2 separate regions of the Homo sapiens genome follow, and region 2 is linked to region 1. The links are contacts of gene promoters, found by promoter capture Hi-C in blood cells and fetal thymus (Javierre and others, 2016). All regions are on one chromosome and are shown on one strand. The core of a region is centred on a gene start or on the middle of the fragment in contact, and the rest is flanking DNA. Distances in the headings are between cores, read along the strand shown. Region 1 holds the start of SYCE2 (synaptonemal complex central element protein 2). Region 2 overlaps RNASEH2A (ribonuclease H2 subunit A).

Region 1 (2,979 bases), core at 255-2,754:
AGCTGGGATTACAGGCATGTGCCACTATGCCCAGCTAATTTTGTATTTTTAGTAGAGACGGGGTTTCTCCATGTTTGTCAGGCTGGTCTCAAACTCCCGACCTTAGGTGATCCACCCGCCTTGGCCTCCCAAAGTGTTGGGATTACAGGTGTGAACCACTGCACCTGGCCAATATTTTTTAATAAATTGGCCCGACATTCTGGCCCGCCTCTAGTCCCAGCCATTTCGGAGGCTGAGGTGGGAGGATCACTTGAGTCTGGGAGGTGGAGGTTGCAGTGAGCCGTGATCATGCCACTGCGTGGTGACAAAGCAAGACGCTGTGTTAGGAGGGAAAAAAAAAGCAGCAGACACTGGCATAGCCTTGTGGAAGAAAAGGGTGAATGAGAGGGACCCAGGGGCCTGTGTAGACCCATAGGGCTGGGATCTTCCTCACCTAGCTGGCCCTCCACCAGCTTCCTCCTCGCAGTTCTCTTCCCACCGCGGATGCTCCTTGCTCTCCCCCAAGGGCTGCGGTTCCTGGTCTTTGCATTTCACATGGGGCACGTCCACCTGCAAGCACAGTCAGGACGGAGGCCAAGGAGGGAGGATGAGGAGTGAACAGATCGCCCTCCTGCCGACCCTTCAACCCTGGTCACCTCGATGTGCTGCTGCGGGACGGTGGGGACCCGCAGGAAAGACGGGCAGGGCTGGGGCAGGTGCCATGAGGGCAGGGGCATGGGGTGAAAGGACACTCTGTCCCTAGGGGACACCAGGACACCAGACCTAGAGGGGCCGGGTGAGGGCAGGGCTGTGGGAATGTAACTGGAGGACCTGGGCTCCTAACTGGTATGTGTGTTGGCTGGAGTCCTTCGAGAAAGGAGAAGAGGTAGGAGAAAAGAGATGAGGCCGGGCGCGGTGGCTCACGCCTGTAATCCCAGCACTTTGGGAGGCGGAGGCGGGCGGATCACGAGGTCAGGAGTGCGAGAACAGCCTGAGCAATATGGTGAAACCCCGTCTCTACTAAAAATACAAAAATTAGCTGACGTGGTGGTGCGTGCCTGTAATCCCAGCTACTCGGGAGGCTGAGGAAGGAGAATCACTTGAACCCGGGAGGCAGAGGTTGCAGTGAGCCGAGATCACGCCACTGCACTCCAGACTGGGCGACAGAGTGATACTTCGTCTCAAAAAAAAAAAAAAAAAGAAATGAAAGAAACGGGTGCGGTGCGTGGGTGTTTGTGCCTTTCTCTACTCCGTTCCGGCCACGCGCCATGTGTGGAAATCAGACCCGTCAGTGCGTCAGTCAGGGCCGGGTTCAGTCAGTCAGGAAATTTGAGGCCAGGCCTGATGAGAGGGAGCCCCAATGGCAAAGGACAAGCGGCCGGGCTCGGGTCCGCTGGAGATGGCTGGGATCGCAGCCGTTCCCTGCCTATCTGTCCGCCCGCCCCACGCGCGAGAAGGAAACAAGCGCCGCGTACTCCCTGTCGCTCCATTCCGTATTTTCCCGCCTTCAAGCTCGCACCCTCTGCGCATGCGCCGACCCCGCCCCTGGCCAGCTGCGCTCCCGCGGACGAGTGTGTTGTGACGCGTGCTCCCGGCCCCGCCCTCTTTGAGAACTTGCGCGGCCAACTGGGCGGGGCCGACCGTTAAGCAGCAGTTTCGCGGTCCGCGGGCTGCGCGCGCAGTCGGCGCCCCTTGGGAGCAGGACGGCGCGCTCTGGGTGCGCTTGTGTGCCCCTGTGAGGCTCCTGGGTTCCACGGGGCGCCCAGGTTATACGGATCTCAGAGTCCTGTATTTATTCGGTGCTTCTAACTTCATCCACTCTGCCTTGGAAAATATACTCCATAACAATTTTTTTTTTTTTTTGAGACAAGATCTTGGTCTGTCGCCCAGGCTGGAGTGCAGTGGTGCGATCACAGCTCACTGTAGCCTCGACCTCCCAGGTTCAAGCGATCCTCCTGCCTCGGCCTCCTGAGTAGCAGTGTCATTCACCAGGCCCTTCTAATTTAAAAATATTTTTCTGGCCGGGCGCGGTGGCTCACGCCTGTAATCCCAGCACTTTGGGAGGCCGAGGCGGGTGGATCACCTGAGGTCATGAGTTCGAGACCAGCCTAGCCAACATGGTGAAACTGTCTCTACTAAAAATACAAAAAATAGCCGGGCGTGGTGGCGGGCGCCTATAGTCCCAGCTACTCGGGAGGCTGGGGCAGGAGAATTGCTTAAACCCAGGACGCAGAGGTTGCAGTGAGCTGAGATCATGCCACTGCACTCCAGCCGGGGTGACAGAGTAAAGCTCCGTCTCAAAAAAAAAAAAAAGATTGTATGTATATATACACACACACACACACACACACACACACATAATTATATTTTTTTTTCCTGTAGAAATGAGATCTCACTGTGCTGAGCCCAGGCTGATCCCCAACTCCTGGGCTCAAGCCGTCCTCCCGTCTTGGTCTCCCAAAGTGCTGTCTCAAAAAAAGAAGAAATTATCTGATCTACCCTATTGACTGTAGGTCATAAGACCCCCGTTTCAAAGAAGTTTCTGCCCCACACAAGGCCTATCTATCTAGATTCTTCTTGGCCTCTCTGAGCATGCATTCCTGAGACTCCAAGAAGAATCTAGACAGATAGGCCTTGCTGGGTTTCCCCACTCAGCCTATTAGTATTAGACGACCCCCCCGGCTTTTTTTTTTTTTTTTTTTTTTTGTCTTGCTCTGTTGTCCAGGCAACACTGGAGTGCAGTGGCAAGATCTCAACTCGCTGCAACCTTGGCCTCCCAGGTTCAAGCGATTCTCAGCCAACCAAGTAGCTGGGATTACAGATGCACCATGCCCAGCTAATTTTTGTATTTTTAGTAGAGATGGGGTTTTTCCATGTTGCTCAGGCTGGTCTCAAACTCCTGGCCTCAAGTGATCCACCCGCCTCAGCCTCCCAAAGTGTCAGGATTACAAGTATGAACCACGACAAACCCTTTTTGTCCAATCAAATTTCTACCTGGGT
Region 2 (3,075 bases), core at 1-2,500, 110 kb before region 1:
AGCATCTGTGCCAAGGTCAGTACCCTACTAGCCATGGCTGGCTTCCACCATCCCACTATATAGGGGCCAGGCATGGCCACCAAAGGGAAGGAGGGAGATTCCAGGTGCCTGTTTTGCCCACAGGTGGCCCGGGACCAGGCCGTGAAGAAATGGCAGTTCGTGGAGAAACTGCAGGACTTGGATACTGATTATGGCTCAGGCTACCCCAATGGTGAGCAGACACGTGACCATGGTACTAATGTTGAAATGGCCAGGGCTGAGCACACTTCTGAGGTTTTCTTTTTTTCCTTTCTGTCATTTATCATTTTATTTTGCTTATTTTTTGTTTTTATTTGTTATTTTTGTTTATTTTTTGAGACGGAGTTTCGCTCTTTTTGCCCAGGCTGGAGTGTAATGGTGCGATCTCGGCTCACCGCAACCTCCACCTCCTGGCTTCAAGCGATTCTCCTGCCTCAGCCTCGCGAGTAGCTGGGATTACAGGCATGTGCCACCACACCCAGCTAATTTTGTGTTTTTAGTAGAGACTAGTTTTCTCCATGTTGGTCAGGCTGGTCTTGAACTCCTGACCTCAGGTGATCTGCCTGGCTCAGCCTCCCAAAGTGCTGGGATTACAGGCATGAGCCACCGTGCCCAGCCTATTTTTTGTTTTTATAGAGATGGGGTCTTGTCATGTTGCCCAGGCTGGTCTCAAATTCCTGGAGTCAAGCAGTCCTCCCACCTTGGTCTTTCAAAGTGCTGGGATTACAGCCATGAGCCACCACCCCTGGCCCTTTTTTTCTTCTTTTTTTAAAGAGATGGGGTCTCCCTATGTTGCCCAGCCTGGTCTTGAATTCCTGGGCTTAAGTGATCCTCCTGCCTTGGACTCCCAAATAGCTAGGATTACAGGTGTGAACTACTGTGCCTGGCTGGAGGTTTTCTAAATTGCTCTGGTCACCCTACTCCACAGTGAAAGAGGCCAAGTGTTAGACAGTGGTGCCATTTGTTTATGGCCACACAGCCAGTGAGTGATAGAGCTGAATTCCAGGCCATAGGATTGCTGCTGTCTTCCCCGCTTCCCACTTTGCTGTCTTTCTGGAGCCCCAGTGATGGACTGAGACCCAAGGTGGGCATTTGTCCCTTTGTTAAGGGGAAGGGGACCAGGCGTGGTGGCTCATGCCTGTAATCCCAGCACTTTGGGAAGCTGAGGTAGGAGAACCGCTTGAGTCCTCGAGTTCAAGACCAGCCTGGGCAACATAGCGAGACCCCCATCTCTATAAAAAATTTAAAAAATTAGCCGGTTATAGTGGTGCCCACCTGTAGTCCCAGCTACTCTGGAGGAGGAGGCTAAGGTGGGTGGGTTGCTTGAGCCCAGGAGTTGGAGGCTGCAGTGAGCTATGATTATGCCACTGCACTCCAGCCTTGGTGACAAGATGAGATCTTGTGTCAAAAAAAAAAATAATGTTAGCCAGGCGTGGTGGCTCACACCTGTAATCCCAGGACTTTGGGAGGCTGAGGCAGGTGGATCCTTTGAGGTCAGGAGTTCTAGACCAGCCTGACCAACGTGGTGAAACCCCATCTCTACTAAAAATACAAAATTAGCTGGACGTGGTGGCACACGCCCGTAATCCCAGCAACTCGGGAGGCTGAGGCAGGAGAATTACTTAAACCTGGGAGGTGGAGGTTGCAGTGAGCCGAGATCGCATAATTGCACTCCAGCCTGGGAAATGAGCAAAATTCCATCTCAAAATAATAATAATAATAATAATAATAATATTTAATGACAGGCTGGGCCAGGTGGCTCATGCCCGTAATCCTAGCATTTTAAGAGACAGAGGCAGGTAGATCATGTGAACTCAGGAATTCACAACCAGCCTGGGCAATATGACAAGACCCCATCTCTACAAAAAATACAAAAATTAGGTGTGGTGGTGCGCACCTGTAGTCCCAGCTACTTGGGAGGCTGAGGTGAGAGGATGGCTTGAGCCTGGGAGGCAGAGGTTGCATTGAGCTGTGATAATGTCACTGCACTCCAGCCTGGGTAATAGAGCGAGACCCTATCTCAAAAAAATAAAAAGGCTGGGTGTGGTGTTTACACCTGTAATCCCAGCACTTTGGGAGGCTGAGGTGGGTGGATCACCTGAGGTCAGGAGTTTGAGACCAGCCTGCCTGTCCAATATGGTGAAACCCCGTCTCTACTAAAAATACAAAAATTAGCCAGGTATGGTGGTGGGTGGCTGTAGTCCCAGCTACTTGGGAGGCTGAGGCAGGAGAATCGCTTGAACCTGGGAGGCGGAGGTTGCAGTGAGCCGAGATCGCACCATTGCACTACAGCCTGGGTGACAGAGCAAGACTCCATTTCAAAAAATAAGTAAATAAAATAAAAATGTTTAATGACTTGTTCTTGGAGGTCAAGGAGATGTCTCAGAGGCAGTCTCCCTGCACTGCCCTTTTAGCAGCTCTTGGCCAGGTAAAGGTCCTGTGGCAAGAAGGTGCTTCAGACCATAGGAGGTGCCCCAGGTACTCAGGAGGAAGCCTTAGAAGAGCGGCAAGGAGGCCGGGCGTGGTGGCTCATGCCTGTAATCCCAGCACTTTGGGAGGCCGAGGGGGGTAGATCACGAGGTCAAGCAATTGAGACCATCCTGGCCAACATGGTGAAACCTCGTCACTACTAAAAACACAAAATTTAGCTGGGCATGGTGGCATGCGCCTGTAGTCCCAGCTACTTGGGAGGCTGAGGCAGGAGAATCGCTTGAATCCGGGAGGTGGAGGTTGCAGTGAGCTGAGATCGCGCCACTGCACTCCAGCCTGGCTACAGAGTGGGACTCCATCTCAAAGAAAAAAAAAAGAGTGGCAGGGAGCTTGAATGTTATGGTGCAACTTGGACTGTCACCATTGCCCACCCTACCCCAGATCCCAAGACAAAAGCGTGGTTGAAGGAGCACGTGGAGCCTGTGTTCGGCTTCCCCCAGTTTGTCCGGTTCAGCTGGCGCACGGCCCAGACCATCCTGGAGAAAGAGGCGGAAGATGTTATATGGTGGGTGTCATGGATGTCCTGGGGGTGCTATAGGGAAGGAAGGAGGGAGGCCAGCGTTCAGC

Evidence for each region. Contacts are between HindIII fragments. The CHiCAGO score rates a contact against its expected background, and 5 or more counts as called.
Region 2: a fragment that was not itself captured here is called in contact with the fragment with the promoter of SYCE2 in region 1 in 1 of 17 cell types (erythroblasts); the score reaches 5.4 in erythroblasts.

Annotation. Positions count from the first base shown.
Region 1 is chr19:12,917,789-12,920,767 of GRCh38, forward strand. It overlaps SYCE2 (synaptonemal complex central element protein 2), which reads right to left and starts at 1,505. Exons shown (of 6, transcript NM_001105578.2): 1 at 1,455-1,505; 2 at 434-549. The coding sequence starts at 1,469. It overlaps MIR5695 (microRNA 5695), which reads left to right and starts at 2,532; the gene lies at 2,532-2,616. RefSeq lists an enhancer at 1,185-1,324. The HindIII fragment of the contact is 4,677 bases long and covers 1-2,979 here.
Region 2 is chr19:12,810,194-12,813,268 of GRCh38, forward strand. RNASEH2A (ribonuclease H2 subunit A) reads left to right here. Exons shown (of 8, transcript NM_006397.3): 5 at 1-15; 6 at 124-211; 7 at 2,890-3,013. Among named protein-coding and RNA genes, the nearest start is that of RNASEH2A, 5.1 kb to the left of the region's middle. The HindIII fragment of the contact is 8,146 bases long and covers 1-3,075 here.